Linked DNA regions of Homo sapiens: region 1 is linked to region 2. The links are contacts of gene promoters, found by promoter capture Hi-C in blood cells and fetal thymus (Javierre and others, 2016). All regions are on one chromosome and are shown on one strand. Each heading gives the region's core, a stretch centred on a gene start or on the middle of the fragment in contact. The rest is flanking DNA. Distances are from core to core; before and after follow the strand shown. Region 1 holds the start of OR4C15 (olfactory receptor family 4 subfamily C member 15). Region 2 holds the start of OR5W2 (olfactory receptor family 5 subfamily W member 2).

The links. The method cuts DNA at HindIII sites, captures the fragments that hold promoters and counts their contacts. A CHiCAGO score of 5 or more calls a contact.
Region 1: the fragment with the promoter of OR4C15 here is called in contact with the fragment with the promoter of OR5W2 in region 2 in 4 of 17 cell types (neutrophils, total CD4 T cells, naive CD8 T cells and 1 more); the score reaches 5.9 in neutrophils.

What each region holds. Positions count from the first base shown.
Region 1 is chr11:55,551,444-55,557,077 of GRCh38, reverse strand. OR4C15 (olfactory receptor family 4 subfamily C member 15) reads right to left here and starts at 2,609. Exons shown (of 1, transcript NM_001001920.3): 1 at 1,659-2,609. The coding sequence starts at 2,609. The coding sequence ends at 1,659. The HindIII fragment of the contact is 1,344 bases long and covers 2,598-3,941 here.
Region 2 is chr11:55,912,931-55,918,396 of GRCh38, reverse strand. It overlaps OR5W2 (olfactory receptor family 5 subfamily W member 2), which reads left to right and starts at 3,815. Exons shown (of 1, transcript NM_001001960.1): 1 at 3,815-4,747. The coding sequence starts at 3,815. The coding sequence ends at 4,747. The HindIII fragment of the contact is 7,753 bases long and covers 1-5,466 here.

The DNA.
Region 1 (5,634 bases), core at 1,360-3,859, 360 kb after region 2:
AGGGTCAGGTTGGCAGATAAATATGTCTGTGCCTGCAAGACATTTATGTTGAGAGGACAAGGAGGTGTCTACAGGGAGAGGTATGGCCTCATTTGCTGTTTCACTAATGAAAGACCATGTCTGGATTAAGGAGGAGAGGTAACTCCTGAGTGGCTCAGAGTCTGGTAAGGGTGAAGGCCCTAAGACTAAAGTTTGGCCACACATGATTTCAAAGGGACTATAAAAAGGGTGCTTTTGGTGTTGCATGGAGTCTCACGAGGGTAAAAGGGAACTTTTTTTTTGTCCACGACTAGCAGGTTTCTAAGGCCAGCATGGTGAGTTGGGCATTAAGGACAGAGTTGACCTTTCCAACTTTGCCTGAAGATTGAGGCCTGAAGGGTGTAGAGACGCCTTAGGTAATTTGGCTGATAAAAGGCGGGCCTGTTATTGGATTGGATGCATGTTGGGAGTTCAAAATGGGGAGTTATATGCATGATGAGAGTTTGTGTGATGACATTTGCATGTTCTGAAGTTGTTGGGAACACTTCTACCAACCCGAAGAAAGTACAGACAAAGACTAGAAGATAGTAGAACCATTTATTGGGCAGTATGTGAGTGAAGTCTACTTGCCAATCTTGCCTGGATACCAGGCCCCAGGCTTGGTGGGTAGGAAAAGGCTGTGGCTGGAGGGAACCTTGGGGTGATACTGAGTAGCAGACAGAGCAGGACTGGGTAATCTACAAACCAAGTAAAGGAGGCATCTGGAAGGTGTTGGTCTGTTATGTTTGGAAAAATGTAAGAGCAGCATTCACACCGAATTGTATAGGGTCTTGGGTGGTTGTAGCTTCAGGTAAGAGCATGGCTGGGTTTAGATGGGAGCTGGTTAGCATGGTAATGTGGGGAGTTTCTATGAATAGAGCATACAGTTGGAAGAGCTGTGGGGCAGAGATGAGACTTAGTACACAGCAGTGAGCTAACATGTCTTTGATGTTTCAGGTTGAATCGACTGTTAGGTTGGCATGGAGAGATCATTTTAGGCTTTCAAGAGTGAGGACAGCAGCTGCTGCCAAGCTCAGAGACAAGCAAGCCATCCATGAACTGCAGCTTTAAGCTGATTAGAGAGGTAGGCAACAACCTGGAAGATGGGTCCCTTAGACTGGGTTAGAACACCTACTGCAACTCCATGCTGGTTAGCGGTATAGAGGGAGAAAGGTTTGGTGAGGTCTGGGAGAGTGAGAATGGGGGCTGATGTGAGAGCCTTCTGGAGGATGGAAATGTTGGGTAATAGGCTGTGTGGGGTTTAAAGGCTCATGGAGAGGGCCTTTAGCCGCCTGGTATAACGGTTTGGCAAGTAGAGTGAAGGAGGGAACCCAGAGCCTAAAATAAACCACTAGTCCTAGAAAAGAGAGAATGTCTTGCTTAGTTTGCAGAGGTGGAAGGGAGTGGAGGTGCAATATGCAGTTGGTTGTGAGCCCTTGGAGTCACGGGGTAAGACTAGGCCTATATAGGTGACTGAGGAGGTGCATATTTGTGCTTTCTGAGGGTGGACACATAAGTTTTCTGATCCCACATTAATGATTTTTTTCTAGCATTACTTTATCTCTTGCCATGAAAGATGTATCTCATTAAGTTTTTATTTAAGGCCATTTTGACCTTTTTTACTCTTAACTTTGGATTTTTTAAAGTTTAATATTTTCTTTCTCATCAGAAACCACCATCAGTCTGTTCCATATTCTCCTCATGGCCTGTTTTACTTCCTTATTCCTGAAAGTGTAAATCAAAGGATTGAGCAAGGGATTTAAGATGATATAAAATATTGCCGCCATTTTGTCAAGGGAAAAAGCAGATGGAGGTCGTGTATATACAAATATGCATGGGACAAAGAACAAAATCACAACAGCAATGTGAGATCCACAGGTGGAGAGAGCTTTCCAGCGCCCTTCAGAACTGTGTGTTCTCAGAGAGAGCAAGATGACAGCATAGGAGACAAGCAACAAGGAGAAGTTTATGATGCAGATAAACCCACTGTTGATGACCACCATGAGGCCAAAGATGTGAGTATCAGTGCAGGCAAGCTCCAGTAACGGGTACAAGTCACACATAAAGTGATTGATGACATTGGGGCCACAAAAGGGAAGCTGGAAAGTAAAAAGAATTTGTATCATGGAATGCAAGAGGCCCCCTGTCCAGGCTACCCCCATCAGAATGCCACAGAGCCTCCTGTTCATGATAGAAGAGTAATGCAAGGGCTTGCAAATGGCCACATAACGATCATAGGCCATGGCTGTGAGGACAATCACCTCCACCCCAGCAAAGAAGTGTTCAGCAAAGAGCTGCATCATGCAGCCTTCAAAAGAGATGGTTTTTGTCACATAGAGGGAGTCTACAATCATCTTTGGGGTGATGACAGATGAGAAGCACGCATCCAGGAAGGACAGGAAGCCCAAGAAGAAGTACATAGGAGACACCAGAAGAGCAGGGCTGCTGAGAATGGTTACTACAATTAGCATGTTGCCCCCAACAGTTGCAATGTAGACAAACAAAAATACAACAAATACTATTTCCTGAACATTTGGATTCTGTGAAAGTCCCAGGAGGACAAACTCAGTTACAAAGCTTTGGTTTTGCATGTTTCCCAAGGAAAAGATGAAAGCTCCAACAGGGATCATGTATAGTCTGCAATTAGGACAAAGGAAAATTTGCTTCAGATCAATTTGTGGTATCATAGTCATTAACAAGTTGGTACATCCAAGTGCAAAATTATTGAGTGCTTCTGTTGTCATTGAGAACATAAATTAGAAATTATTGAAGGTAGTACTGAAATATCAGACAGAATTGTGATAGAGATAATTTAAAGAATACTTGAAAGAAACAAGAGGTTCAATATGGGGGAAGGATATGTGGTAGAGAAGAGAAAGAGTTTTCATATCAAGTGCCAGCTTTGATCATTTACTAGTGGCTTCCTGGAGTGAATTATTGAGAAGTATTCTGAAGTTACCTCTAAATTTTGAGAGAAGGAGCATTGTAACTTATTACTTATTTCTGCCATTGGCATCAAATGAGAGCAGGGATGACCAGCATCCCATTCCTAATCGGGAGACTGCTTTATCTGCAACTAGAAGAAAACAGCGTATAGTTCAAGAGGCACTTAAAAATTATGGCTGCTCTTCAAATATTTCTTTAAAAGTCTTAACTGAATTCATTCTTTACAAAAGAGAAAGATCTTTAGAAAAATCTCTAGCCTGACATTTAAAACATAAAAAGTATGCATTAAGTGCGGAGTGTTTTCTTAAATCTGTCATTTTAAAATGAAAACAGAAGTTTATTATTATTATAAAAGTAATAATGCCTACAACAGAATGTTGTTATGATAACTGGTGAAACAATGGAAGGCTAAGGACCGACTGCCCTAGGGAATGGTCTGCATTAGGTCTTATTATTCCTATTTGATTGGTGGGAAACTCATGCTTAAAGAAGTTAAGTTTAAGCAAATAACAGACAATCTGGGATATTAACACAAAATCTCAGGCTCCAACACCCAATTCCTTTCCACTAGATCAGCAGGGAAAGGAGTGGGGATATTCCTTTTCCAGTAAGAACTTCAAAGTAGGAATGGCCTTTCTACAAACACTTGCATGTACAAATTGGCATCAACCACATAAGTAAGGAAGAGAAACAATATATTGAATATAAACCGGAATCTTGAGGCTTTATTAATTATTTTCCAATTATTTATATAAAGTAATCAGGTCTAATGAAGTTTAATTCCTAAAAGAAGTGTATATTTCAACTTTATATGCATTATTGTGTAGCAGAGGTGTTTATATATAGCTTACCTGCTCATGTCTCAGGATTATGATGATGGTCAGATTTGAAAATGTGAAAATTTTACTTATAATAAAGTGCTCTTACCAATTGTATTTACTCACTTAAAAAGTCAGCCACCTTATCTACAAAAAGCTTTTTCATGAGTCATCTAGATAATTACTCTCCAACTTTTGACTTCATTTCCACAGGCAGACACAGCTTTAAAGGATAATTCTGTCTTCACCTATATATATATAATTGAAATGTGTTTTTCAATTACCATATATAAGTGTGTGTTTGAATATTTGTATATGTGTATATTTATATGTGTATACACCTTTGTTAAAAAATAAGTGAATAAAAAAGAATAAAGAGATTTATTTTGAGATTTAAATAAGCTGATTTTTATGAATGTCACTTGGAGTTAACAGAAACAATTTAAAATGTTAATAAAACTAACAAATATACAATTGTGTATGTTAATATATGTTCTTTTGCTTATTTTAAAACAATCATTTCCATTATGTTTTCAGTTTCATTTGTAACCAGTGTCTGCACTAGGAATTCCATATACAGTTATAAGTTATCATCAGGAAAATATGAGCTGGAACAAACCTTATAAGGTTATTAGATAAGTCAATAACCATTTATTGCAAAGGAAAGCATGTTAGTAAATGATCCAACAGTGCTCAGCTTAGCCGAGAGCCAAAGTGGGAAATACGATGAAGTGAAATGAGTAAGAACTTCAGTTCCAGACTCATATAGACGTAGGTTCAAATCCAAGCTCTCCTACTTGTTCTATGGCATGTTAGAACAAGTCACTTCAAATTCTTAACATTCTCAAAGCCTCAGCTTCCACTTCAGTAAATGGATATGATGTCTATCTATACATATCTTGTGAGTATAAGAAAGCAATACACACAAAAGCACTGATGCAGTAAGAAGCATAGAAGATCATGATGAGTGGTGAGAACAAGCCCTCAGAGCCATTGACACAGAGCAGAAATAACATTTTTACACTAATTTTTGCTTTACCAAGACCAAGGTGGTTTTACTCATCCTTTAACACATGGACACAGGAAGGGGAGCATCACACACCGGGGCCTGTTGTGGGGTGGGGGGAGTGAGGAGGGACAGCATTAGGAGATACACCTAATGTTAAATAACGAGTTAATGAGTGCAGCACACCAACATGGCACATGTATACATCTGTAACTAACCTGCACGTTGTGCACATGTACCCTAAAGCTTAAAGTATAATAATCAAAAATTTAAAAAAAAGAAAATGTGCCACATATACACTATGGAATACTATGCAGCCATAAAAAAGGATGAGTTCATGTCATTTGTAGGGACATGGATGAAACTGGAAACCATCATTCTCAGCAAACTATCACAAGGACAAAAAAACAAACACTGTATGTTCTCACTTATAGGTGGGAATTGAACAATGAGAACACTTGGACACAGGAAGTGGGACATCACACACCGGGGCCTGTTGTGAGGTGGGGGTAGGGGGGAGGTATAGCATTAGGAGATATACCTAATGTAAATGACGAGTTAATGGGTGCAGCACACCAACATGGCACATGTATACGTATGTAACAAACATGCACGTTGTGCACATGTACCCTAGAACTTAAAGTATAATAAAAAAATTTTAAAAGAGAAAAAAATAAAAATAAAAATAAATTTTGAAAAATGTTAAATATTTTATTTGGTCTGTCTCAGTGCAGACATGATATTTTAAAATGCACAACACTTTTAAATGTCTTTAGTAATCCCTGAATAAAGTACTGTGGCCCCCATTCTGTCAAATATCCACTTCTATTTCAAATAGCTTCATTG
Region 2 (5,466 bases), core at 2,566-5,065:
TTGTTTTCTTCCATAATTTAAGAAAGCATCTTCAATTAAATACCAATAACTTTATCCAACTTTTTATAATAATGTAGCCACTTAGATTCAGGTTTTAATGAAAAGGGTTGAAGAGAATTTAGCCTACATGTCCAGGGACAGTCGAGTTTAGGAAGCTAATTTAGGTCTTACCTAAGTAAAGTATAACCTAAAGAGTCCTGTCATTCCTGTAAACATGTAATCACATGATATGAAAATGAGTTTGAATCAAGTTAAACGTCCATTTCCTTTAAGTATGGACCAGAGAAGTAGATGATGGTAACAAAGCTCTTGGGCAGCACAAATGTATCAGTGTCTTTAGTGTAATGGGTGGAAAATTATTACAGTTAATTTGTTGGACTTGTCTTTAACAACATGTCTAATAGCCATAAATTTAGCATATTTGTAACACCACCATCTCCCAAGCAATGACAATAAAGCATAAAAAGTCACTGAAATTTAATACTAAAAAGTACTTTTCCCCCAATCAAGAATATTTTAATAATTTAGCCAGATGTAGGCTAGCTTTATAGGAATTTTGAGAAAAGGCTATGCCCCTGTCTACTCCCTGGTAAGGTTTGGGAAGACACAGGAATCACCTGGAGTGTTTATATGGATACACTGGCTTATGTCTATCACTGACTATTTTAGTTACACATTTTTCTTTCACTTTTTTGTAGTAAAAAATAGATTAACTTCCTTAAGACAGAATGTCAGTGGGAATACATTTTTGTACAGTACAGTCGACAGTAGACTTTAAAGAACACATAGAAATCTGTACTTGTAAGTATCCAGCAATGAATCACATATTATAAAACACCACTCAGAACATGGCCAGTACAGAGAAATTTTTTTTCATTACACTGTAGTCAGAAACATATTGAGAGCAGGTGCTTGGAGAAAGAAAACTTCATGCCTATGAGACTCCAGAAGTTTACTCTTTACTTCTGAATTTCACTTTTGGTATCTGTATAATGAAGTTGTTAGAGATGGAAACATAAGACAATATTTGAAATGTATGATAAGATATATGGAGATATAGTAATTAGTATATGGAAAACACATGGGATGTGATACACGATCCATTGTAGAATGTATTTAAATTCATACCTTTTCCTCCACAAGCCCAGGCCTGAATGAAGAGGTGCTTTAAAAGCACATTTTTAGAAGGGAGAGTAGAGACAATTTTATGGCCAGAACAATGTGAATGCAGGATTCAGCTCTCTGTCCCATGAAGTTAAAGGCTAAAATAGTTGACTAAAATAGGGACGGAGAGGAGAGCAATACATAGCAGCCATAGGGGAGTCAATGGGGTAGACACAAAATTCACACTTTGAGTAACTTCCAAGTATCAAAGGACTGCCATGAATAATTGTACACAAAACTTATTTTGGAAATAAATAGAACTTAGCTTTTTTCTTAAAAAGCATGGCCTCAACACATGTTTTCTTTTTTTTTTGAAACGGAGTCTCGCTCTGTTGCCCAGGCTGGAGTGCAATGGCGCAATCTCAGCTCACTGCAAGCTCTGCCTCCCAGGTTCACGCCACTCTCCTGCCTCAGCCTCCCGAGTAGCTGGGACCACAGGCGCCCGCCAACACGCCCAGCTAATTTTTTTGTATCTTTTAGTAGAGACGGGGTTTCACCATGTTAGCCAGGATGGTCTCGATCTCCTGACCTCCCGCCTCGGCCTCCCAAAATGCTGAGATTACAGGCTTGAGCCACCGCGCAGGGCCACGTTTTCTTTTAAATAATCATCTTTGTACATATCAACTATATTAGGAGAAACAGACCTGAAAGTTTGTTTATGTTTATTCTTGGTTGAACATTACCAGCCTAATAAGCAGAAAATATTTAACATCACACAATCACATTTAAAAACATACATTACTCACACATATCTCTGTGCTAGAGATTGTGGGAATGTAGAGAGACACCTAGGCCAACAGACAAATAAAATATAAATTAAGAAAAAGTGTGTTCAATGTGACGGATGTTGTACATCCATAAAATAATTGAAATGAGGGTAGTTGTCACTGTAGTTGGGGAAAAAGTACTCAGACAATGATTAATGAAAAAAAGCAGCATGTTAGATTATCTTATTTCTAAATGGGAGATGAAGGAGATTTTCAGAAGTGGAAGAAACAGGATGAACAATGAAAAGGACAAGAAAACCATTAAGTTGAAAATCTACTCAAGTTTCATTGGCTGTCTTATTTCATGATAACCATGAAGCATACTGTTAAATGAATTCTGATAAATTTCTAACATTGGTCAATTTGGTGATAAAGCTGAAAAATTAAAAATGGAGCCTTTGGTAAACTAGTTGCAGCATTCACTGGGGAAAATACAGAACTAGGAATCTAATTAATCATGTTTGAATAACATAAAGGAGTGAAGGCAGAGGCTTGAGAGATTTATGTCCCAACAGTCACCAGTAAAAATAAAATGTGATCTGCCTATTGTTCACATACCAGAGGTAAGGACAGAAAGACTTGCTCATCTCAGGTAGGTTTCTGAATGATCAATTTAAAGGACAGAGGAAAAATTTTGGAAAAATAAGAAATCATGTATTAAGGAATTTACAAATGAATGATTTTATAGATGCTTACTCAGTTGAAGCACCTCTGGAATCTAATGGCCAAACAATGATATTTTCTTATTGGATCTGTGTGAATTTGACTGACCTTACTTGTCATTGTAAGAGGATAATATAGATTTCACCCATTTATATTTTAATCAACCTTCATAAGTAAATCATTACTTTAAAAAATCACTGTACCTGTGATATTATTTTAGATGTAAATTTAAGATAGGTTCTAGATTTACTCAAATAATAATAGAGGTAACACATTACAGATATTAATTTATGAAAATTCAAGTTCTTAAGGTACATGCCATAATATTTAAGTCTAGAAGAAATAACAATCAGACCCACCCCACATTTCAATTTTCATATAACAGACACACACAGGCACACACACACACACAAGAGTAAGTGCACATATAACACAAGCAACAGAAGCCTATATATTTCAGAAACACTTATTGTTCTTCACATTTTGATTTTAATGAAAAAGTCAATTATAAGCAAATATAAGTAGTCTGTTGTTCACACTTCTTTTACCACTTACATTTGGCTTTTGTTTTTTAGAACCAGATAAGTCATCCAAATGGATTATAAATGCTGTGACAAACCAGTGATGATGAGTAACAGTTAAATAAAACATTTTTCTTTTCCAGTAAGCACTAACGACACCACATCAAAAACAGTACCATAATAATTTTCTCTTATTAACTTACATGTAATATCACTGTCAGTGGTAGAAAAATGTATATATTTCTTGAATAATGCAATAAATATGATCCTTTTTTGTCAAATATATGAGATGCTTAGTCCGGTATGTTCTGGCCCTTGTGACTCTAACTATGGTGTTTCTTTCACATCCTTTTGGATCTGTACTGAGCTTTCAGTTTAATCAAATTGACTGCCTTAGATTGTACAATAGAAGCAAAGACAAATGATATATGTCAGAAATTGCATGTAAGTTTAGATTCAAAGTTGATCAACTTCCTTTGGCAGACACTTTTAGGGTTTTTTTTTTTTAATACAGTAATAATGCCTCTTTGAAAGTGACACTCACCTGGGATACTTTTTGAGGGTAAAGAAGATAATTTACATAAACAAATCTTGTTCTACTTTACAGATAATTTTTTTTTTGATATCTTGGAAAGTCAAGTTCTAGACTGTCATTCTCGTAATGATTTCTGTAGCAGTTTGAAACAAGAACAAGGAAGAATGGACTGGGAAAATTGCTCCTCATTAACTGATTTTTTTCTCTTGGGAATTACCAATAACCCAGAGATGAAAGTGACCCTATTTGCTGTATTCTTGGCTGTTTATATCATTAATTTCTCAGCAAATCTTGGAATGATAGTTTTAATCAGAATGGATTACCAACTTCACACACCAATGTATTTCTTCCTCAGTCATCTGTCTTTCTGTGATCTCTGCTATTCTACTGCAACTGGGCCCAAGATGCTGGTAGATCTACTTGCCAAGAACAAGTCAATACCCTTCTATGGCTGTGCTCTGCAATTCTTGGTCTTCTGTATCTTTGCAGATTCTGAGTGTCTACTGCTGTCAGTGATGGCCTTTGATCGGTACAAGGCCATCATCAACCCCCTGCTCTATACAGTCAACATGTCTAGCAGAGTGTGCTATCTACTCTTGACTGGGGTTTATCTGGTGGGAATAGCAGATGCTTTGATACATATGACACTGGCCTTCCGCCTATGCTTCTGTGGGTCTAATGAGATTAATCATTTCTTCTGTGATATCCCTCCTCTCTTATTACTCTCTCGCTCAGATACACAGGTCAATGAGTTAGTGTTATTCACCGTCTTTGGTTTTATTGAACTGAGTACCATTTCAGGAGTTTTCATTTCTTATTGTTATATCATCCTATCAGTCTTGGAGATACACTCTGCTGAGGGGAGGTTCAAAGCTCTCTCTACATGCACTTCCCACTTATCTGCGGTTGCAATTTTCCAGGGAACTCTGCTCTTTATGTATTTCCGGCCAAGTTCTTCCTATTCTCTAGATCAAGATAAAATGACCTCATTGTTTTACACCCTTGTGGTTCCCATGTTGAACCCCCTGATTTATAGCCTGAGGAACAAGGATGTGAAAGAGGCCCTGAAAAAACTGAAAAATAAAATTTTATTTTAAGGAAATAGTAAAAATACATGTTTATACACACAAAAATGCATATTCATACTGGTGTTTTCTTCAAATTATATATTATAACATAAAGTTGTCTCAAATACCCTAATTTAATATAATACATATTTTACTCAGCCACAATCTAGCAATTCTCTGGAATTGTCTAAATATGCTATTTTTTTAATGTGTTTTCAATTTAGGTAAGGTAATTTCTCTATATTTGAAAAATGCTCCAGTCTTTGAGTTAGTGGGGCAAATTTTTATTTGTTTAATATATATTTCAGAGTAATTTTTCTTTTTTTCTTTTCTTTTTTTTTTTGTGATGGAATCTGACCCTATTGCCCAGGTTGGAGTGTAGTGGTGCAATCTCGGCTCACTGCAACCTCCGCCTCCCTGGTTCAAGTGATTCTCATGCTTCAGCCTCCCGAGTAGCTGGGATTACAGGTGCCTGCCACCAGGCCCGGCTAATTTTTGTGTTTTCAGTAGAGATGGGGTTCCAACATTTTGACCAGGCTGGTCTCGAACTCCTGACCTCAGGCGATCCACCCATCTTGGCCCCACAAAGTGGTGGGATTACGGGCGTGACAGGCAGTAATTTTTCTAAGACTTATTGAGTGTTTAGTACATGCCTTTCACATTGCTGTGTACTTTGCATTTCATGCTGAATCCACTATATTCTGTACTAGTGAGTCATAGAATATAGTGGAAACATTTAATTAATCAAA